7 separate regions of the Homo sapiens genome follow, and all the other regions are linked to region 1. The links are contacts of gene promoters, found by promoter capture Hi-C in blood cells and fetal thymus (Javierre and others, 2016). All regions are on one chromosome and are shown on one strand. The core of a region is centred on a gene start or on the middle of the fragment in contact, and the rest is flanking DNA. Distances in the headings are between cores, read along the strand shown.

The links. The method cuts DNA at HindIII sites, captures the fragments that hold promoters and counts their contacts. A CHiCAGO score of 5 or more calls a contact.
Region 2: a contact is called between a fragment that was not itself captured here and the fragment with the promoter of ADPGK-AS1 in region 1, in 7 of 17 cell types (megakaryocytes, erythroblasts, naive CD8 T cells and 4 more). The highest score is 13.0, in megakaryocytes.
Region 3: a fragment that was not itself captured here is called in contact with the fragment with the promoter of ADPGK-AS1 in region 1 in 1 of 17 cell types (fetal thymus); the score reaches 5.5 in fetal thymus.
Region 4: a fragment that was not itself captured here is called in contact with the fragment with the promoter of ADPGK-AS1 in region 1 in 1 of 17 cell types (megakaryocytes); the score reaches 5.8 in megakaryocytes.
Region 5: a contact is called between a fragment that was not itself captured here and the fragment with the promoter of ADPGK-AS1 in region 1, in 1 of 17 cell types (fetal thymus). The highest score is 5.9, in fetal thymus.
Region 6: a fragment that was not itself captured here is called in contact with the fragment with the promoter of ADPGK-AS1 in region 1 in 1 of 17 cell types (megakaryocytes); the score reaches 5.6 in megakaryocytes.
Region 7: a contact is called between a fragment that was not itself captured here and the fragment with the promoter of ADPGK-AS1 in region 1, in 7 of 17 cell types (naive CD4 T cells, M2 macrophages, total CD8 T cells and 4 more). The highest score is 9.8, in naive CD4 T cells.

What each region holds. Positions count from the first base shown.
Region 1 is chr15:72,781,431-72,784,534 of GRCh38, reverse strand. ADPGK-AS1 (ADPGK antisense RNA 1) reads right to left here and starts at 1,700. Exons shown (of 3, transcript NR_040107.1): 1 at 1-1,700. It overlaps ADPGK (ADP dependent glucokinase), which reads left to right and starts at 777. Exons shown (of 7, transcript NM_001365225.1): 1 at 777-1,076. The coding sequence starts at 844. RefSeq lists enhancers at 252-461, 512-571, 1,332-1,401 and a silencer at 622-1,081. The HindIII fragment of the contact is 5,666 bases long and covers 1-3,104 here.
Region 2 is chr15:73,274,304-73,277,407 of GRCh38, reverse strand. It overlaps NEO1 (neogenin 1), which reads right to left. Exons shown (of 29, transcript NM_002499.4): 21 at 2,684-2,716. Among named protein-coding and RNA genes, the nearest start is that of MIR12135, 24 kb to the left of the region's middle. The HindIII fragment of the contact is 2,230 bases long and covers 538-2,767 here.
Region 3 is chr15:72,283,138-72,286,241 of GRCh38, reverse strand. It overlaps CELF6 (CUGBP Elav-like family member 6), which reads left to right. Exons shown (of 13, transcript NM_052840.5): 13 at 1-1,515. LOC105370887 (a long non-coding RNA gene) reads right to left here. Exons shown (of 2, transcript XR_932440.3): 2 at 3,051-3,104. Among named protein-coding and RNA genes, the nearest start is that of PARP6, 12 kb to the right of the region's middle. The HindIII fragment of the contact is 1,283 bases long and covers 964-2,246 here.
Region 4 is chr15:73,203,564-73,206,667 of GRCh38, reverse strand. The region is part of intron 7 of NEO1 (neogenin 1); the gene reads right to left. Among named protein-coding and RNA genes, the nearest start is that of MIR12135, 95 kb to the left of the region's middle. The HindIII fragment of the contact is 433 bases long and covers 1,274-1,706 here.
Region 5 is chr15:72,369,918-72,373,021 of GRCh38, reverse strand. The region is part of intron 1 of HEXA (hexosaminidase subunit alpha); the gene reads left to right. Among named protein-coding and RNA genes, the nearest start is that of HEXA, 4.5 kb to the left of the region's middle. The HindIII fragment of the contact is 4,935 bases long and covers 1-3,104 here.
Region 6 is chr15:73,113,058-73,116,161 of GRCh38, reverse strand. All of the region lies in intron 1 of NEO1 (neogenin 1), which reads right to left. Among named protein-coding and RNA genes, the nearest start is that of NEO1, 62 kb to the right of the region's middle. The HindIII fragment of the contact is 471 bases long and covers 1,185-1,655 here.
Region 7 is chr15:73,092,789-73,095,892 of GRCh38, reverse strand. The region is part of intron 1 of NEO1 (neogenin 1); the gene reads right to left. Among named protein-coding and RNA genes, the nearest start is that of NEO1, 42 kb to the right of the region's middle. The HindIII fragment of the contact is 3,259 bases long and covers 1-3,104 here.

The DNA of each region.
Region 1 (3,104 bases), core at 451-2,950:
CCTCATGCACAGAAAAGTATCAGCGAAGAGAGGGCTGGGTTTAAGTGATGTCACCAAGGGGGAACAAAAGAAAGCAGCGTTTCTCAACCCAGGTCCATAACTCTCGTGTTGTGCACAAGATTGTGTACATTTTCCAGAGTTTGTTAAAGGGAACAGCGCCCCCAAAAGGGTTAAAGTTTGATTGTGGAATAATCTGGTTATCCAGAAGAGAACGATCTCTGCGGGCTCTCCTGTCTCGACGAAGTCCTTTAGTGGCTGAGGGTCTCGGCCACCTTCCAAAGGGGCGGAATCCCCCTGCCTCGCGTACCCCAGGGGTCTCGGCAGCGCCGCTATTCTGTGAGCCTATTCCTCTCAGAAGCGCCGAGCACTAGGCCTGGAAGAGGACAAGTCTAGCAAATGAGGGGACACGGGCGGAGGGAGGGATTAAAAGATGGGGGTGTGATCCGTGCCAATGGGGACACCCACTGGTTCGAATATTAACGCGAGGTTTGTCCGCTTCTTCACAATCTGTCCGTTTCGTTTTACTGCGAAAGCAAATGTGTTCCCATCCCTCTATTTGGGGATACGATTAGAGTTCCGGGAAGGGGGTGCAGCGCCCGGACTGGCACAACCGCCGTTGTCCCACCTCCTCCGGGGCGGCAACACCGCAGTGCCAGGCCTGGGACTGAGGCGTGGGGTCCCCCCTCGCTCCGTCCTGGCGCCGCCCGTCGCCCCGCCCCTTGGGGGGCCCCGTGGCGCACCCTTGTGACGTAGCGCTTGTGTCGACATCGGCGCGCGCCGAGCCCGGAAGAGGCGCGGGCTAGGAAAGGAGTTGGTTCGCGCAGGTGCGGCGCCTGGGTCCCCATGGCGCTGTGGCGCGGCTCCGCGTACGCGGGCTTCCTGGCGCTGGCCGTGGGCTGCGTCTTCCTGCTGGAGCCAGAGCTGCCAGGCTCGGCGCTGCGCTCTCTCTGGAGCTCGCTGTGTCTGGGGCCCGCGCCTGCGCCCCCGGGACCCGTCTCCCCCGAGGGCCGGTTGGCGGCAGCCTGGGACGCGCTTATCGTGCGGCCAGTCCGGCGCTGGCGCCGCGTGGCAGTGGGGTGAGTGCCAACGGGGCCTGGGTCTCTGAGCCTCCGAGGTCGGCCTTGGAGGTCGGGCGGAGCCGCGCAGAAACAGGGCTTCTCAGAGGTCCCCGGGAGGCGCTGCTGTCCGCGCTGGCCCCTTGGCGAGAAGTGTCGGACGTCTGAGTGGAACCCGGTTCGTCACCGCTGCTCTTTCCACTCGGCTGGCCTCTGCGCCTTTCTCTCATCCCGGTAGGACCAGCCCTAACAGCTTCTTGCTAATCCCGCTTTGTCTGACACCTTTCTCCGAGCCTTCTTCCTCGTTCCAACTTTTAGCCCCTTCTCTTCTGGCGACTGTTGTTTTGCAATCAAAGATACTTGACCTTACCCACTATGACAACACTCTTCCTCTTTCTTCTGAACTTCTTGAAGACGCGTGATGTCTGCCTTTACCCACTTTCGAAACGCCGTGTAGTCTAGAAACCACACGACTGTACTGCAACTCCTCTCAGATTTGCCTTTTTGAATCTTCATTATCTACTCTGCAGCCTTCCACGCATTGAACACGCCCTTCTCCGTGAAATTCTTTTCTTCCCCTGACTTCAGTGACACTGCATATTTAAGGTTCTTCCAAATGACACTACCTCCTTTCTTTGTACTTTTCCTTGGGAATGTAATTATTTTCTTTATAGTATTGATACTGTAAACACTAACTTTAGTCCCTGTCTCAGTTCGATTTGACTTTCTTGCCGTAATCTCAGAGTTATGTATAACCACCACATAAAAGCAGGCCCTCTACCATGTAGCTCACTACTTTCTGTGGAGTGTTGGGGCCGGGAGGGGTAAAGTAGAGCAAACTTGGCCTGAAGATTAAATGACATCATTCATGTAATCTCTCTAGCATAGTGCCTGCTTTAAAAAGCATTCGATATTAGCTATAATTTTGGGGTTTTTTTTTTTTTTTTTTTTTGGACACAGGGTCTCTCTCTCTGTCGCCTAGGCTGGAGTGCAGTGGTGCAATCACTGCTCACTGCAGCCTCGAACTCCCGAGCTCAAGAGATCCTTCTGCCTCAGCCTCTGGAGTAGCTGGGACGACAGGCAAGCACCACCACGCCCAGCCAATTTTTTATTTATTTTATTTTTTTTAGTAGAGTCGAGGTCTTGCTATATTGCCCAGGCTGGTCTCGAACTCCTGAGCTCAAGCCAGCCTCCCATCTTGGCCTCCCAAAGTGCTGGGATTAAATTGTCCTTCCTTGCTTTATGCGCGTTCATTCAGCAGATATTCACCAACTACATGGTTAGTGTCAGGTCTGTGCTAGGTTCTTAAGATACAGAGATGGGTGAAGCAAGGCCCCTGTCTCACTTGTTGGAAACATATTATTGTATCAGTCATTTGGGCTGCTAGAACAGAATACCACAAATTAGGTGGATTAAACAACAAATCTGTTTTCTCGTGGATCTGGAGGCTGATAGTCCAAGATCAAGGTGTTGGCAGGATTGGCTTCCGATGTGGCCTCTCTTCCTAGCTTGCAGCCAGCTGGCTTTTCAGTTAGTCTGCGCATGTACACTCCTGGTGCCTCTTATTCTTCTTATGTGGACACTAGGTCCTTTTGGAATAGGGCTCACCCGTATGACCTTATTTAACCTTAACTACTTCCTTAAAGGCCCTACGTCCAAATATAGTCACATTGGGAATTAGGGTTTCAGCATATGAATTGGTGGGGGGTGGACAATTCAATCCATAACAATTATGGTTAGAAGAGGAACAACCCACGAGGACCAGGCAGAAGCCTTAATGCCTTTTACGACCTTACCTTAGAAGCACATAGGAACTCTTCTACCAGAGTCACAGGTCCACCTGGTTTTAAGGGAGGGGACATAGAACAAACCTTGATGGGAGGAGCATCAGTGTCACATTGTGAAAAGAACATTTGGAATGGGGCATCTTATTGCCACCATCTTGGAAAATATATTTTACTACAGTGACTTTCATAGGACAGACACTAAATAAATGAGATTTCTTCAAGCCAAAGTGGGAACAGGTCCACCTAGGCAAGAGAACCAAAT
Region 2 (3,104 bases), core at 403-2,902, 490 kb before region 1:
TGCAAATATCAGTTTTTTAAAAAATTCTTATACTTGGCCTTGAATTTTGCTCTTCACATTTATAGGAAAAGCTGCTTGGGAAAAGCAAATACGAGGACCTTTTTCCAATAAAGCAAAGGTGTCAATCTAAGGTTTATACCCAGAAAGCAATATCATACTTCTCCTGAAAAAGAGGTCTGAAAGAATTGCAAAGTAAAAGCTGTTTTATGAAGTTAACTATGAGGTTAATATAGCACATTGTTTAATAGACAGACTGCACTTGCATATTACCTCCATCATATACAACTGTTTGACTTTGGGCAAGTTATTTATTCTTTTTGGGCCTCAGTTTTCTCATTGTAACACAGGGATAATAATGGTATCCACTTCACAAAGCTGTTGTGAGGATTAAATGGAAATTTAATACCATAAAATATTTTTAATACTGACTGACACATAGTAGATGTTCCATAAATGTTAACCACTCCTATTACAAGCATAAAAAATCTTCACGAAAGAGTATAATCTTCTCTTTAAAGAGGCAGAGAGCATGAAGCTTCAAAAAACACTTATAAATGAGAGTTATTTCTACAAATAAAGCCTTACTAGAAATGTATAAACTAGGTGTTTCTGCAAAACATTAGAGCTAATGTCAAGTACTTCCATAAATTATCAGGAGATACATATATTCAATGAAATGAAAACATTAAAATCTGAAGTTTGTGTATGCAGTTCATCTAACAGAATAAATCCAGTGACTAAAACAATGCTATGCTTCCAGAAACTGAAAACCTACCAAAAGAAGGTAACAGGAGTTCCTGGATATCCAAAAGGGCATATTCTAGAATTTACTCACAGTCCCTGGCCCTTTTTCCATTGTCCACACATATTACTTTATCTCCTTACTTCTGATGCCATCATTTCTCCCAAGTGACACACACCATAGATTAAGAGTCCAGTTGTTCCTCATATGCTTTTCACTATGACAAAGTCTAGCTGGTGGAGATGGCTTAGCACCTGCAAGGCTCTTCAGGTTTAAGTGTACTTAGTTGACAGCTAGGCTACATTTAAGCCAAACTATCCAGAGCATTGGATTATGTACCTAATTGTCAAAGAACACACATTGCTAACAAACTGGATGGTTTATATTCCTGTATTTCCCAACATTGTTTCTCTTGAATGTAAACTATGAACAAGAAATTCCAAGGATGAACTGAGCACCAAAAATATCAATGAGTAAAGAATTTTAAATACCAGAGGTGTCAGGCAGCTAAGAATTGCACTCTGGCTATGGAATCAAGTGAGAAAACAATGAGCCCATTTATATTCTGTGCATATATATATTATGGGTATTTTTATATTCCTGCACTTTCACACAACAGAAAGTATGTTTGCAGTTTCTCCAATGTAGTGCAAAAGACTCACTGAATGCAAACACATTTCCAAAGTGTTCTGGAAAACTTGATACCTCAAGTTCTGACTCTTCCTTGCCATTAGCCAAGATCCAAATAACTTGCAATTCTAACAACTACTCTTAAACCAAGAGAGCAATAATTAAATTTACTTTTAATGTTCATTCTCAGTATGGAAAACATACTAGCATTAGCTGACTTCCTAGAGATAAAAATCACAAAATATAGCTATCCCTCCACCATGGCAGTTACAGTGTAAAGACTATTGACAGATGGTTTCAAGAATGGTGACATGGAGGCCCCTGTTTGCTAGGTCCCCATTTCAATTATCACTATTATTATTATTTATTTACTTTTTTTTTGAGACAGGGTCTCACTCTGTCACCTAGGCAGGAGTGCAGTGGTGTGATCACGACTCACTGCAGCCTCCACCTCCCAGGCTCAAACCATCCTCCCACCTCAGCCTCCGGAGTAGCTGGGATTATAGGTGCGCACCACCATGCCCAGCTAACTTTTTTTTCCTATTTTTTGTAGAGAGGGGGTCTCACTTTGTTGCCCAGGCTAGTCTTGAACTCTTGGGCTCAAGTGATCCTCCCACCTTGGCCTCCCAAAGTGCTGGGATTACAGGCCTGAGCCACCGTACGTGGCCTAAGTTTTTATTTCAAATAGTTTTGATCCTCTTTTAATATGATCAGATATATTTAAGGGGAGAAATGAAAAAAGAGCTCTGAATTAAGTTTATGGTAACAGAATAAACAAAGCAGTAATTTAGTCACACAGAATCACAACATTGAGTAAGGTAAATTTGTGGATTCTTTGTGGGAAGAGGAAAATAGGGTATTCACTGAATGTGATACAACTTTCCACTTAAAGACACTAATAAAATTCTAGATGCTACAAATATAAACAATTGGTATGATCAAATATGAACAACTGCTGCAAACATGAACAATTGGTATGATCGGTCTAATCATGACTTAAATGCTTATCGTTGTCACAGAACTTCAATATCTCAGCACAAAGGATGATCTGATCCACACTTAAGACGAATCTCCTACAGCTGCAGGACCAGTTTACTGGTTCAGTTTTCTTCTGCCAGCCTAGTTAGCTTCTACATAAATTCCCCAGCTTTTCAGAACATGGACTCAACTCTACTTTGGCCAATAACTGTGTGGCTTTTAACACATGGTGCTGATTTTTCAGGAAAAAAAAAAAAAAAAGAAACAAAAACCAAAAGCTAATAATAGGTCACAAAAGAAAGGAAAGAAAAGAGAGGCCATCTACTCATTTACCTTGATCATTAGGCATTTTATCAGAGGAGTCCGCTAACAGGCCAAGCACAGGGGAAGAAAAAACAAGAGCAAGGATCACAAGCTTTGAAGATGGGACAGGCAGAACTTTTTAAAGGAAAAAAACTAAAACCCCCACAAACTTCCAAACAAACTGAAACTTGACTTTAGTACTAACAGAAATTAAATTCATACAGGGCTTCCATAATTCCTTAGATTCAGTCCCCAGTTAAATTTTATTAGGCTAGGCTTACTTGGTTCAGTGCTTTATCTTCATTTTCTTATCTAGGGTTTTATTTAAAAGGCTCTTTTTAGTCTCTTTTTCTCTGTAACGTCCACAAATAAGTCTTTCAGGTTAATAGCCTGCCTGAGTTGAACTATCCATCACAAGAACACACTACTCTTTCTCTATATGGGAACCAAA
Region 3 (3,104 bases), core at 356-2,855, 500 kb after region 1:
GGTGCCTGGGGCTAAGGCCACTCTAAGGATTGTTTTTATCAAGTGGGTTGTTCTGTGCCTGCAGCATAGAGCGCAGGCTGGCAGAGCAAATAGGGCTGGTGAGGAGTGACTGTCCAGGGGAACCAGCAGAGGGCGTTGGGGGTGCCAAGGGCTTCTCCGCAAGGGAAGCCCAGATTTACTTCTTTCAAAATCATATCATTCCTTAGAGTTTAGGGACCAAAGGACTATTGCTTTTTTAAGAATATATATATCTATATAAATTAAAACAAAGAAACAAACAAACAAAAAACAAGACAAACAACTACAAAAAAAGACAGTATAGAGTCTCATAAAAGCTGCCTTTAAATATCCCTAGGAGACAGGGTGAAGGAGACCCTTGACAGCCCCAGCCTAGGCAGATGGGGGCTGTGGAAAGATTGTTCTGTGTCTCATTCCCTCTTAAGCCACTCCCCCACCCTGCCCTTTTAAAAATAATTAAGGATTTGAGGTCTAGGCTCACATGCAGGTAATGAGAACGTTATGGAAGCAGTGAACCCACAATCCACAATCCCCAAACTCAGAGTGCATCCCAGAAGAGGCCCCAGGCAGAGCTCAGGTTGGCCCTGGCCTTTGCCATCCCGGGAGGCCCCCTAGCCAGCAAGAGTGGGATTGCCTTTCCTGTGGAACCACTGCTTCCCCAGGCGGGAAGAAAGAGGGAGTTCTGGCCACCTGAGCCTTTCCCTTGCCAATCCAGGTAGACAGAGGCCCTGCCTTTGGCTGAGCTGAGACACCTCCTGTTTCCCTTCCCCTTGAACCAGTCCCAGTGTCCCCTTGCTCCAGGCTACCTTCTGTCTCTTAGTCTAAGTTTGCCCACCTGTAAAGTAGATTCAGGATATCTGTAGAGGGCTGTGACAACAGACTTGGAAGGTTTGCTACTGTATATACTGCCATTGAGAAGGGGAAATTTTTCAATATGTAGAAGCTTCAGAATTAGAGGTCCCTCTTTACCCCAGACCTGGGAGGGAAGTAGATGTTTTGCCAAAATACTTCTTCATTCCTTTAAAAACTACATCTTTCCTATGCAAGAGTGTCTCACATGTGCTTAACCGAGGTGCTTCTAGTTGGTGAGCAGTGTTGAGCTTAGAAGTGGTGTGTGCTCTGTCTGTCTGTCTTTGTCTGTCTGTTGTATACAGTGGGTGCCATATAAAGCTGATCAATGGTGGTGCTTCCTGCCTGCTTCTGTGAGATGGGCAAAAGATTCAGCTTAGAACACCATGACTCACCTTGCCTTGGTCAGCCTTTCCTGGGCCTGTAGGGCCTTGCACATATTTTTCCCAGGAGGATTTCCCCTCCACCCCACAGGCATGGATCAGCTTGGTCTGAGGCCCCAGCTGTGTGGGGTCCCTCTAATCCCCAGATGTTGCTGAGGCTGAAGGCCTCTGATCTGATAACATGTCAGATAGTAAAAGATGTGGGGGTGGGGGTGGAGGGCTCCTCCTTCATAACAGTTTCTAAGAAAACTTGTTCCCACCTGTTCTTCTGTCTTCGACTCATTTTTGGAGGGAATGGGAATGAAACATAGATCTGGCAGTAATATTACCAGGTAAGGTGTGATGGACATCCACAAATATTTTCCAACCGAGGGAAGAACCAGAGGGTGTATGTGCACCAGCACAATGCTGACACCTAGAGTGACCACCCTAGACACAAATAGAGACACACAGTACCCGCACCCTCAAACTAATATTCACATGGAAGCAGAGAGTCCCCTCAGGCTAGGTGCTAAGCACTGTGCTACGTGTCGGGGCTCAGGTATGTTCAAAGTACTCAGAGTTAAGGGGAAAGAGAGACAAATAATCCAGTTACAATGGAGGGCCATAGAAGGTCTGTGCTAGCAAGAATGAGAGTACCTAGTTCAGACTTTATTGGTGGGGGAGGTCTGTGAAATACTTTCTGAAGGAGATTAAGAAGGGGAAAAGTCTTCAAGGATGAACTGGGACATTTGGACAAAGCCATTTAGACAGCTGCATCATTTTGAAAAATTATCTTTATTACCAAGAAATAATAATAATTACCATTTATTCAGTACCTGTTATATGGCAGATAATGGGCACAAGATAAGACCCTTTTCCCGTTCCTAACTCTACCCTGAACCTTACCATTACCAAGTCATGTCAAGACACTTGAACCAAAATGACATTTAAAATATCTGGCTTCATACTTTAGAGTATGGGCTAAGGACTGGCAGACTGTGTGATTCCAAAGCTTCAGGGTTTGACATGGTCTAGATCAGGGGTTGGCAAACTATGGCTTGTGGGCCAAATCTGGCCTGTGGCCTATTTTTGTATGAACTACCAAACTAATAATTTTTTTTACATTTTTGAAGGGTCGTCAAAACAAAACAAGAAAGTGAAACGGAGACCACATATGGCCCACACAGCCTAAAATATCTATCTATCTTGTCCTTTAGACAAAAAGTTTGCTGACCCCTGGTAAGATCATGGAAGACTTATATAATGTCTGATGAGCTTGAACAATATGGTGTTTGTGTCTCTCTGTGTGCATGTATTAGTCTGGACCTTTTCAGTTGCAAGTGTCAAAAACCCAACTCAAACATGTTTAGGCCAATTGGAAATTAATTGATTTACATAACTGATAAATCAAAGCATGTATCTGCCTTGAAGCATGGCTGGATCTAGGGGTTCAAAGGATGATGTCTCCATCTCTTGGCTCTGCTTCCTTCCATATGTTGGCCTCATTAGTTCTAGTTCTAAAATCCCAGGGAGGACTTTGGCCAGCTTTGGACACATGCCCACCACTAGGATAGAAGAGTAGGCCACCATAATTGACAACTTCATCAGGACTGTGTGGAAGGGGAGAAATGGGTCCCTAAGGAAGAGATGATGGGCAGATAAATGAAATGCACCCACTATATCCCACCCTTTATTGCATCCACCTATACTTTTCTTGACAAACATACAATTTCAAAAATGTGCCTGCCTGACAATGCAATAATCATAGACCCAACAAAAACCACATTCACCTATTTCCCAAGGGGAGATAAAACAGAATTACATCCAGTTGCTTTATTGAGTCCTCAGTCCAGGGTCCCTTGGTGATGGGCA
Region 4 (3,104 bases), core at 241-2,740, 420 kb before region 1:
GAGATATTCCATAGAGTAAAGGACATGAGAAAATACATGAGTAATTAAAAAAACAAAACAAAACAACAACAACAACAAAAACAAACTATTTTTGGATAGTCTGAGCCAGAAATACTGCTGCTTCTGCTCCTATTGAGCCACACGCTACCCTAGCTTTTTTTCTTGGGACAAAACCTTAAACCTCCTTCCCCAAAAAGAGTGCTTATGACAAACTTTTATGAATAAACTTGTGATAGGTCAACAACCTATCAACAACCTAATATAGGGATAATCAAAGGCAAATATGTATAGAAAGCTAAACAATCTAGAATTAACAATTAACACAATGAAAGAGAGGCATAAAATTCAACAAGAGAAATAATAAAGGAAACAGCAAATAAGGAAACAGGAGAAAACTTCAAGAGATATCAATATTAGAATACCATAAAACAAGAATAAGCTGTTATAAAAAAAAGTTTACAGGCCAGGTGTGGTGGCTCATGCCTGTAATCCCAGCACTTTGGGAGGCTGGGGTGGGCAGATTGCTTGAGCTCAGGAGTTCAAGACCACCCTGGGCAACATGGTGAAACCTCATCTCTACTAAAATACAAAAAATTAGCTGGACGTAGTGGCACATGCCTGTAGCCCAGCTACTCAAGAGGCTGAGGCATGAGAATCACTTGAGCCTGGGAGGCAGGGGTTGCAGTGAGCCGAGATCGCACCACTGCACTCCAGCTTGGGCTACAGAGTAAGGCTCTGACTCAAAAAAAAACAAAAAAAAAATTACAGATGTTGAAAATTAAAAATATAGCCAGGAGAGATGTCCAGTTTCAATGGTGGCATGTAAATAGCTTGAAAGTCATCATTTTCATTCTTACAAGAAAAAGCTGGAAAATTGAAAATGAATGACTTTCCTGGACTCACTAGAGAAATGAGATTGCAGGGCAAATCCCCACCCCAAACTGTAGAGACAGGTGCATTCAGAGACATACAGCAACCAAGATTTGCTTACATGAAGCAGAAGCCATGGGAGACATAAACTGGTAGGAACACTTAAAAGGTAATCTTACAAATTGCTAGAGGTTGAGTGTGGACTATTGTGAGAATGAAAAAATCCTGGGGGCCACAGTCTTAGGGGTGACTACATTTCTGTGGACATTCCCTCCAGGAATTTTACCAGGTTGTCATCACGAGGATTCCAAAAGATTCCCTCCTGTCTCTGGCAGGGGGAGAGGAAGAGTAACCATCATGAAACATGCCCAGAACCTGTTCCAGAGAATTAATTGTGAAAGCTTATCCCAGCTAGAGGAAAGAAATTCCTTGTTCCTCCAATTTTCTTCAGCTTTCCTGTTTGACCTAAGTGGGGGTTAGAAGAGAATACGACAACCCATAGTCAAGAGAGGACAGGGGCTTCAGGAAATAGATTGGGAACACTACAGATGGGAAAGGGAATAGGGAACAGGGGGAAGAAAGCTGTACTACTGGAGAAACACTTGTGAAGGTCACAACCATAAGACAAGCCCCCTGAAAACCTGAGACTTAATCAAAGATCATAGCATGTCCTTCTCCCTCACATCTTAACATTATACAAACAGTGCTCAAGAATAATAGCGGAAACAACTATTAGCTGAAAGAACTGCAAGAAAAAGGCTCCCTCTGAGGAGTAATACTTAGGGAAGTTCCGAAGTCAAGAGTAGAGACAAAAAATCAAGTACGCTAAAGAAGCTTCAAGTCTCTGATAACCTATAGCTACAACAAACATTAAACACACAACCCAACTTCTAGCTGGATTAACATAAATCCTCACACTAAAGGCCTATTTATCTCAGTTCTTATTACTGCATACAAGACACCAAGCTTTCAACAAGAAATTATAATATTTTCATGCCCCAAACAAGAAAAACCCCAGTCTGAAGAAACAAAACAACCATCAGAAAAAGACAAAGATGTTGGAATTATCACCAGGGTATTTCAAATAACTATGACTAGAATGCTAAGGGCTGTAATGAAAATAAGTAGGGAACATGCAAGAAGAGACTAGTAAGCACAGAGACAGAACTGTAAAAAAAGAATCAAAAGGAATTCTACAAAGAAAAAATGAAGCATGCCTTTGATGGGCTCATCAGTAGATTCAACGTGGGTGTGGAAAGAATGGGTCAATTGAGGACAGCCAGTAGAAACTTCCTACACTAAAATGCAAAGAGAAAAAAGAATGAAAAAAACAGAATATCCAAAATCATGGGGCATTATCAAAAAGTGGAATGTACATCTAATTGGAATATCAGAGAAGAGAGAATAAAGCGAGAATTTTCCAAAATTAATGACAAACACCTAACCACAGATCCAAGAAGCTGAGAGGATACCAAGCACAATAAATATTTTAAAAATCTACACCTAAGCACATCATACCCAAACTGCAGAAAACCAAAGACAAAGCGAAAATCTTGAAAGACGGCAGAATAAAAAAAACCACCCTACCTCCAGAGGAATAATGATAAGAATTACAGTGGAGAGCATGTCAAAAGCCATGTTAAGTGTAGTGAAATATTCAAAGTGCTGAAAAAAAAACCCACCAACCTTACATTCTATATCCAGCAAAATTGCACTTCAAAGGTTAATGAGAAATAAAAACTTTCTCAGACAAACAAAAATAAGGAGAATCAATCAGCAGATAATTTGCCCTGCAAGAAATGTTAAAAGAAGTTCTTCAAGCAGAAGGAAAATGATATAGGTCAGAAACTTGGATTTACAAAGAAAGAAAGAGTGCTGGAGAAGGAAAAAGCAAAGGTAAAATAAAATCTTTTATTTTTCTTATTCTTAGTTGACCTAAAAGGTAATGATTTGTTTAAAGCAATAGTAGTAACAATATACTGGGTAGCTACAGCATATGGGTAAGTGAAATAAATGACAGCACTATTACAAGGGATGGGAGGGAAGAATTGGGAATACTCTTATAAAATACCTATAGTACAAATGAAGCAGTATAGTGTTGTCTTAAGAACCTAGGTTAGTTAAAAACGTATACTGTAAAACTGAGGGCAACCACTAAAAATTTTTAAAATAAGTATAATCAAAATTTTGAGAGAGGAGATAAGATTATATAAAGTACTCAAAACTGACGAAGG
Region 5 (3,104 bases), core at 168-2,667, 410 kb after region 1:
GTAGCTGGGACCACAGGAGCATGCCACCACACCTGGCTAATTTTTGTATTTTCTGTAGATGGGGTTTCGCCATGTTGCCCAAGCTGGTCTCCAATTCCTGAGCTCAAGTGATCCCCCTGCTTTGGCCTACCAAAGTCCTGGGATTACAGGGTGGAATGAGCCACCTGACCAGCCCAGTGTTTTTCCTAATGCAATACAACTTCTGGTTTTTGTCTGAACCTGAAACTAAGAATTCATACTCCCTTTTCTGAAAAAGAAGTCTGGTATTGAGGTTCAGTTCTATTTTGAATTCACCTTCAAGGGTTAGTCCCACCAGTTGCTAAATGGTCTGTGAAGGTGTTTAGTATTTGCCACCTTTCTTTGTCATTGAGAGGTGTTTCTACCAATTGGAGGGTGTGTGTTGCATGTTGTTGAACCTGTTAAATAGACTTATTTTAGGAACTAGATACTTGAATGAATCTAGTTCCCTGTTTGATTATTAAGCCACATCCTGTTTGCAAAGCAAAGATGTGATTATTTGGAATTTGGAATGGCACCCATCTAATGTTGCTCCAGACATTTAATAAGCATGGTGTGGAGCATGGTGCTTGATGGAGCTGATAAAGTCCAAATTTTTCCAAGTAAAGTGGCTAAGTCTAATTCTGCCATTAGACTGCATTTTTTTTTTTTTTTTGAGATGGAGTCTTGCTCTGTTGCCCAGGCTGGAATGCAGTGGTGTGATTTTGACTCACTGCAACCTCCACCTCCTGGGTTCAAGTGATTATCCTGCCTCAGCCTCCCAAGTAGCTGGGAATTCAGGCACCCACCACCATGCCTGGCTAATTTTTTATTTTTTAGTAGAGACGGGGTTTAGTAGCGATGGGGTTTCACCACGTTGGCCAGACTGGTCTCGAACTCCTGGCCTCATGTGATCTGCCCACCTCAAGATTACAGGTGTGAGCCACTGCACCTGGCCATGACTGCATTCTTCTTTGCTTTTCCTGAAACTGGTTGATAGAAGCCATAGTATATCATAGATATTATAAGGTTCCCATCCTGGTCTGATGTTCACCTGCACATCCCTGTGAGTTGCTGAGGATGCCATTGTCCTTCAACAGAATAATCCTGCCCCCCTTCTCCAGCCCTTTTATTCTGGAATGGAAGTAAGATTATTATATAAGAGCCTGTGTCCTTCTGCAGCCATTATCAGTATTTGATTTGCTCATCCTCAGATATTAAAGAAGTGACTAAATTAATAAATGGCATAGTTCATTATAATCTGGATCTCCTAAAATACCTTCTTTGGCCATTTCTTCTGTATCTGGAACGTTGTAGATATGTAGTAATTATTTGTAAAATATATTAACGTTAAAGAGCTACTTTGTGTAAACATTTGTAAGAAGGCTTTATGGGTTTGGGTTTTGTTTTCTTTTTTTTTTTTTTTTTTTTTTCTTTTAGAGACAGGGTCTTATTTTGTCACCCAGTCTGGAGTGCAGTGGCACAAACACAGCCCACTGCAGCCTCGACCTCCGAGGCTCAAGCTGTCCTCCCATCTCAGCCTCTTGAGTAGCTGGGACTACAGGTGCATAGCTAATTTTTGTAGAGATGGAGTACCACCATGTTGCCCCAGCTGGTCTCGAACCCCTGGGCTCAACCACTCTGCCTGCTTCAGCCACCCAAAGTGTTGGGATTACAGGTCTGAGAAGATCATCAAAAAGATATGATTTGCAGGTTTTCATTGAGGATTACCTTTCCTTTCAGGTTACCAATTTGGAGTGTAAGTGTGTGATTCCAGGCAAAGGATAATCACACTATGCTGCTTATTGTGTGATCCCAACTCGTGCTGCTCTTAACTCAGCATGCAGTGAGAGATGCATTGGGATTGCATCTAGGAGGGAAACAGATAAGGTCAAGCAGCTGGGCTGGGGAGAAAGAATAAGGCCGATTAGTTCTCTCCACTTTAATTGGGCTAGCGGCTAACTATACTTTAACCTTTCCCACGGCAAAGACAAGGCATATTCCTGCCAAAGATGATTGCCACTAAGTTTATTGTTTTAAAAGCAAAGAGGAAGAAAACAACACGGGAAGAAGGTTTTGTAGTAGAATTACTTTTTCTCATGAAGGGGTTTCTGGAGAACGAGGGATACATAGGAGAAATACAGTGATGAATAAATTGTCTTTAGAAAGAAGGTGATGGCAGAAGCACAGTTTTTAGTTGAAGGGCAAAATAAGTGTCATATTTCATTTTGAATCCCAGGGCCTAGATTAGCTTGGCCTGCAGTCTTCCACCAGCCTCTCTTCTCACAGCCCTGTTTTTTTCTTTTCTTTTCTTTCTTTTTTTTTTTAAGAAACAGGTCTTTCTCTGTCATTCAGACTGGAGTGCAGTGGTGTGATCACGGCTTACAGCAACCTCGAACTCCAGGACTCAAGCAGTCTTCCCGCCTCACTGATGAGTAGCTAGGACTACAGACGCATGCCACCGCACCCAGCTAATTTTTTTATTTTTTGCATTTTGTAGAGATGGGGGTCTTACTGTGTTGCCCAGGCTGGTCTTGAACCCCTGGCTTCAAGCGATCCTCTTGTCTCGGCCTCCCCGAGTGCTGAGATTACAGGTGTGAGCCACCATTTATTACCTAAAGCATGATACTTTTCTAGTATCCCTGTATAGTACTGAGTCCAAGAAGCTAAACTTGATCAAGGTGTATGTGGGTAGCCTGGGCCTGGTTTATGAAAAATTTGAGTTTTATTTCTGTGAGCTGTAGGTGTTCCCCTGCTTTGGATATTCTGTTTGAACACAGTATACATTGGAGGACTCAGGATGTGGAACATGATTCATTCAGGAGTCAGCTGAGAAAGTGTTTATTAACCCCTTAACTCTGTGCCTTCAGACTAATTGCCTAATTTCCAAGCTGTTGCTGCTACTTCCTTTTTTTTTTTTTTTTTTTTAACTCTGCCTGCCTTCCAGACATTTCCGAGGATAACAAGAAAATAGTTATGAATGTTTTTTCAGTCTTTAAGGGAGGGTATAATAGTGGGAAGAACTTGGTGATTTTAAAAATAAAACAATAAAAATTAAAAGTCCAAGCCCCAGAGATGCCTTTCCTTCCATTTCCTTCTACCCCAGT
Region 6 (3,104 bases), core at 171-2,670, 330 kb before region 1:
AAGAGGTATCTTTTTATGTTTATCAGTTATTTGTATTTTTTTCATAAATTTACTATACACACACTTTGTCCATTTTCTAGAGAATTTATTCATCCGACTGACTTAAAAAGCAATCTGCTATCATATTTTACAAATATTCTTTTTTCCATTTGACTTTATAATATTTGTTATAAGAATAAATTTTAAGCTACATAAAACTAAACATAGTTATACTTAGGTCTTTTTTATCCCAAGATCATAAAAAATTTCAGCCTTGCTTTGTTCTATTACTCTTGTGATTTTCTACATTTAATCTTCATCTAGAATTCATTTTAGTGTAAAGAGCACGGAAGGAATTAGCTTACTTTCTCTAAGTCCCTGTCAGTTCTTTGAACATGGGAAGAACAAAATTTAAAGAAAAATATTTGTTATAAACCTTATACTCTCAGCCTGTTGGAAAGCTTTCCAACTTAAAGCTTTATCACTTTTCTTCAAGAAAACTTCTGACCAATTCCCTTGTAAACAACTCAAGTTGTCATCAGCTTTCTTCATGTGAAAAATCAGAGAAACCCAATCCAGCAAATGAAACTAAGACTGTTTTTCGAATATATCTACACACTTCTTTATAATTTATTTGCATTATGAATTTAAGGATGACATAAATTCTATATTATATAATGAACAAACACCTCTAAAGAAATATAAAACACACTGGCAGAGGAAAAGAAATAACATTCAATTGTTTTAAAAGTTTTCCAATACTTCAATGATAAACAAATTCTAATTCTAATCAGACTAATTACACTTTCCCAAACACCACAAGCAGGTATTAGAAAAGAGGTGGCTGGGCACGGTGGCTCACGCCTGTAATCCCAGCACTTTGGGAGGCCAAGGTGGGTGGATCATGAGGTCAGCAGTTCGAGACCAGCCTGGCCAACATGGTGAAACCCCATCTCTACTAAAAATACAAAAATTAGCCAGGCATGGTGGCACATGCCTGTAGTCCCAGCTAGTTGGGAGGCTGAGGCGGGAAAATCACTTGAACCTGGGAGGTGGAGGTTGCAGTGAGCCGAGATTACACCATTGCACTATAGCCTGGCAAGAGCCAGACTCCGTCTCAAAAAAAAAAAGTGTTTCAGGTCTCTATGCCCATTTAATGACCATGAAATTTATTTTTCAAGTCTTAAAATTCCTGAAAATAAGCTTAGAAATTTTTAAAAAGTAACCTGCAATTAGTTTCTTATTACTATCAAAATGTTTATGTTGCATTAGTTTACTGGAATCATAGTAGAATAAACACATAAATAAAAAGTATAAAAAGATAGCTAAACTAAGAGAAATTACCTTTATATCTTTACTATGTAACTATTAAATCTCTATTATACCCCCCAAACTTAACTCAGAAACTTAAAAGATAAATGTGTTAGATTGGTGGTTAAAATACACAAATTAAAAATCTGAAATATTGTATTACTGATAATAAAATACATTCTATTTCAAAATTACAACACAATTTTTGCCATTTGAAAAAATACCCCCAAAATTACAATTTAAATGTTTCGCAGTTTAACACTGTCTTGCTTTTTATTTCATTTTTAAAATTGAGCCAGGTTGAACAACGAAAAAAAGTATATGTGTTTGAAAAAGTAAGAGTGAATTACACTCAAAGGAAAGCTTACAAATGCCTTTCAAAATCAAGGCACTTCAAAATTTTTACAAAAAGTTACTTAAATATTTCTGTATATCGTTTTGTATTTTGTTCTCTCAGTAGGAGGGCAGTGACCTAAGATATCCTCTCTTCACTTAAAACCCCTCAAAGGCTTGCCGTTGCCTTTTACAAAGAAACCTGAAGAAACTCCTTTAGTCGACTGCCACGTCAGTCACCACCTGATCTAGCTTCTGCCTATTTCCAGCTCCCCTGCATTGCTCTCCCAGTCAGTTCCCCACCGCTCCCGCCTCTTCACACAAGCTATTCCCACCACCACTCCTTTTCAGTCAGTTCTCAGTCTTCCTTCAAGCTCAGCTTAAATATCATTTGCTCAGAAATGCTGTCTGTCCCAGGTGCCCAGGCAATGTTAGTTTTGCCTGTTCTAAGCAAGCATGGTGTATGCGCTACCTACAGAGCACTCCAAATGTTCTTAATCTTTGAATATTTGTAATAACTTTAAGTTAAAGTAGAGAGGTTCCCAAACTTGCTTGGCTCCTGGTACCCTTATTTTCTCTATAATTTCTTTCAAGAATTCCATAGGTCAAAAGAGATAGCTAACCATCCTATTTCTTTTAACAGTTAGGTTCAAACAAAATGAGTATCTATGTCCCAACAAATTAACACCTTTTTGAAAAAATAATACATGCAAACTGAAAAATATATATATATATTTCATTTTAAAATAACCACAATTAGTTACTATGGGATGTTTTCACCTACAGGGCCCTGCACAACTTCTAAAACTTAGATGCTGTGCAACTAAATACTGCCACCCACATTTCCTGTTCCACACTGATTTTTGCATAGTACTTGCTTTTTAAAACAGTAACCACTAAAAGCTCAACTTCACAAAGATATCACAGGTACAAAATGAAGATGGCACAATCAGCTGTTGAAACTGTGAACTACCTTGAGCTAGAAGTTCGCATAATGTCCAACAGATGTGGCCATGTTTCCCTAGAAGTTTGAAATGACCCTGGGAGTTCTCTGAGGTTCCTTTGGGTATCTCAGGGTATAGTTTGGGAAATGCAGGCTTATGATCTATCTTTGTACAGTTTTCATTTGCTATATTCCCAGTACCCACCTAGCATGGTGGATGGCACTAATCTTTAGATTACATAACCAGATAACTTCTAAAAACTTCCAATGGTTAAAGTATTAATAAGAGACTGCAGGTTCCATTCTAATAATGGCCACTTAGTATCACTCCTTTCCACACTAAGACTTAATAACAAACAGTTTTTGTAAATTCTGATGAGTGTTTACAAAACTATATGGAAGAGCAAAAAAAAAAAGCCAGTAAGAGCCAAAGTAATTCTGCAAAACAAAGTAAAGGGACTCCACTTGTTAGTTACAAGTATGTATAAAGCTATAGTAACTAAGCCACTGTGGCTCTGGAGCAGAGGATAAAGACACA
Region 7 (3,104 bases), core at 283-2,782, 310 kb before region 1:
ACCTCAAACTAGATCCTATTCAGGCATCTTATAACAAGTTAACACAAGTTTATTTTGATGTAAAGAAATTTTGAAATCCATGCATAGTTTTTTCATATATGCATTTTCCATGAACTTTCTGAAGACCCATGGGACATTTAGGCTTCAATAATGATAATAAAACAACTGAAATGGTCAAATCTGTTGAATTCCATTACTTTAATCTCAAAAAAAAAAAAACAAATAAAGACTAATTGGTCATCTTTCGTGAATGCTATAGAACCAAATCATCTTGAAAACTTTTCAAAAGGAAGAGGAAAAAAATTAAACATCTTTCCCCATCAAACTGTTCCTGGTGGCAATAAAATTGTTGGTGAAAGTTTCTGTTTATAGAAGTACTCTACCAAATAAATGAAAAAATGATAGATTATCACTATTTTGCAACTCCTAATGAATCAACAGCTCTAGGCAATAAAAAGTAAACGGTACAGAAGTCAGCAAATATTTTCTGTAGAGGGCCAGACAGAAAATATGTTAGGCTTTTCAGGCTACACACAGTTGCTGTCGCAAATTCTCCTTTGCTTATTTTTTTAATTCTTTTTTAAAAACACTTTCAAAATGTAAAAATCAACATTAGCTTATAGGTTATTTAAAAAACAAGCCAGAGACAACTGACCATTAGCTGTTAAGTTTTTTTTTTTTTTTTAAGACAGAGTCTCACTCTGTCGCCAGGCTGGAGTGCAGTGGCACAATCTCAGCTCACTACAACCTCTGCCTCCTGGGTTCAAGCAATTCTCCTGCCTTAGCCTCCTGAGTAGCTGAAACTTCAGGTGCACACCACCATGCCCGGCTAATTTCTGTATTTTCAGTAGAGACGGGGTTTCACCATGTTGGCCAGGATGGTCTCAATCTCTTGACCTCGTGATCCGCCCGCCTCAGCCTCCCAAAGTGCTGGGCTTATAGGTGTGAGCCACCGTGCCCAGCCTAGCTATGGTTTTCTAAACCCTGGTAGCTAATAGCAACAGAGAAACAGACCCAAACAGACATTACACACCTCTTGATGAAAGAATAAATTACCATCACCTATGTGGCAGTCCAACAAAACCCTGAAATGATCAAATCTCTAGATCCAACTAACAATTAAGAAACAAAAATAAAAATAAAAAAGACAGAGGAAGATGGTAAGAAACACCATGGGGAAGCAACCAGCAATATCCCAACCATGTGGAAATTCTTCTGGACAAATGACAAAGAAGAAAACAGGGAGGTGAAGAGGGGATAATTATCACTTAAAAGAAACTTAAAACGTATACCAATCAATTGTGTAGATACTAATTCCAATTCAAACAACAACAAAATCTTTAGAAAGGCTATTGTATAGAATATACATTGCAGCATTATTCATAATAGCCAAAAGGTATAAACACGCAAATAAACCAATGTCCTTCAACTAATGATTATATAACATGTATTATATCCAGACAATGAAGTTATTATTTGGCCATAAAAAGGAATGAAATACTAATACAAGCTACAACATGGACGAACCTTGAAAACATCATGCTAAGTAAAAGCTGCCAGGCACAAAAGATCACATATTATATGACTTCATTTACATGAAATATCCCGAATAGGTAAATCAAAAGAGTGTTATCTAGGACCGGGGAACATGAGAAATGGACAGTAGACTGCTTATGGGGTATAAGATTTCTTTTGGGGTGATGAAAATGTTCTAAAATTGATTGCGGCAATGGCTGCACATCTGTGAATATATCAAAAGCTACTGAGTTGCACATTTTAAATAGGTGGATTATATAGTATGTGAGTTATATCGCAATTAAAAAAAATAGTTATAGAAGGAACCAGGGCTCCTTGAAGGAATGGTTAATTCTAAAATTAGGCAAGAAATACAAATGATGAGTCTGGAGCATGTTGTAGTGCCCAAAGGTAAGGAAGTGCTAAAAACAAAACAAAACAAAAAGCACAATGATGGAGGTATGTCAATGAGACACCGGGGCCAAATTAAGGAGCTTCCGGCCAGGCACAGTGGCTCGTGCCTATAATCCCAGCACTCTGGGAGGCCAAGGCAGGTGGATTGCTTGAGCTTAGGAGTTCGAGACCAGCCAGGGAAGCATGGCGAAACCCTGTCTCTACAAAAAATACAAAAAATTAGCCAGGCGTGGTTGGTAGTGCACGCCTGTGGTCCCAGCTACTTGGGAGGTTGAGGTGGGAGGATCACCTGAGCCTGGGAGGCAGAGGTTGCAGTGAGCTGTAAGCATGTCACTGCACTCCAGCCTGGGTGACAGAGCACGACCTTGTATCCAAAAAGAAAAAAAAAAAAAGGAACTTCCCATGGTCAAAGCTGAAACAATTTAAGCAACAAAATAAAGGATTACTGGATTATAATCCAAAGTACAAAATAAATACCCATGAGTTCATAATATACAGTTGAAAGATTTTTAAATGGAGAAAAAAGACAAATACCCCATGCAGAAGAATTCCAAATAATTCACATAGAAACACCACCCTCTACGAGGGAGAACATAATTCCCCACTCCTGAAGTGCAGGCTGCCCATGGTGACTTTCTTCTCAAAAGAGTACAGTATGGAAAAAGGTAGGTGACTTTACCAGGGAGAACTTGACAAACACAATCTCAGCCAGGTGATCAAGGTCAATGTTAATAGTGATACATCATGTTGATATTATGTATCAATGCCTTGAAATGGTGTGATGGCACTTTACCTCTGTGGTCATCCTTCCAAAACCATAAGCCCCAGTCTAATCCTGAGAAAAACATCAGACAAATCCTAACAGAGAAACATTCTATAAAATACCTGACCAGTACTCCTTAAAACTATCAAGGTCATCAAAAATAAGGAAAGTCTGAGAAACTATCACAGCCAAGAGAGCCCAAGAAGACATAACAATTAAATGTAATATGGTATGCTGGATGGGATTCTGGAACAGAAAAAAAGGACATTAGGTTAAAAACTAAAAACTGAGAAAATCTGAATAAAGTATAGACTTCAGTTAATATATCAATATAGGTTTACTAATTGTAACAAATGTATCATTTTAATATAAGATGTTAACAATGGGAGATACTGGGTGTGGAGTATATGGG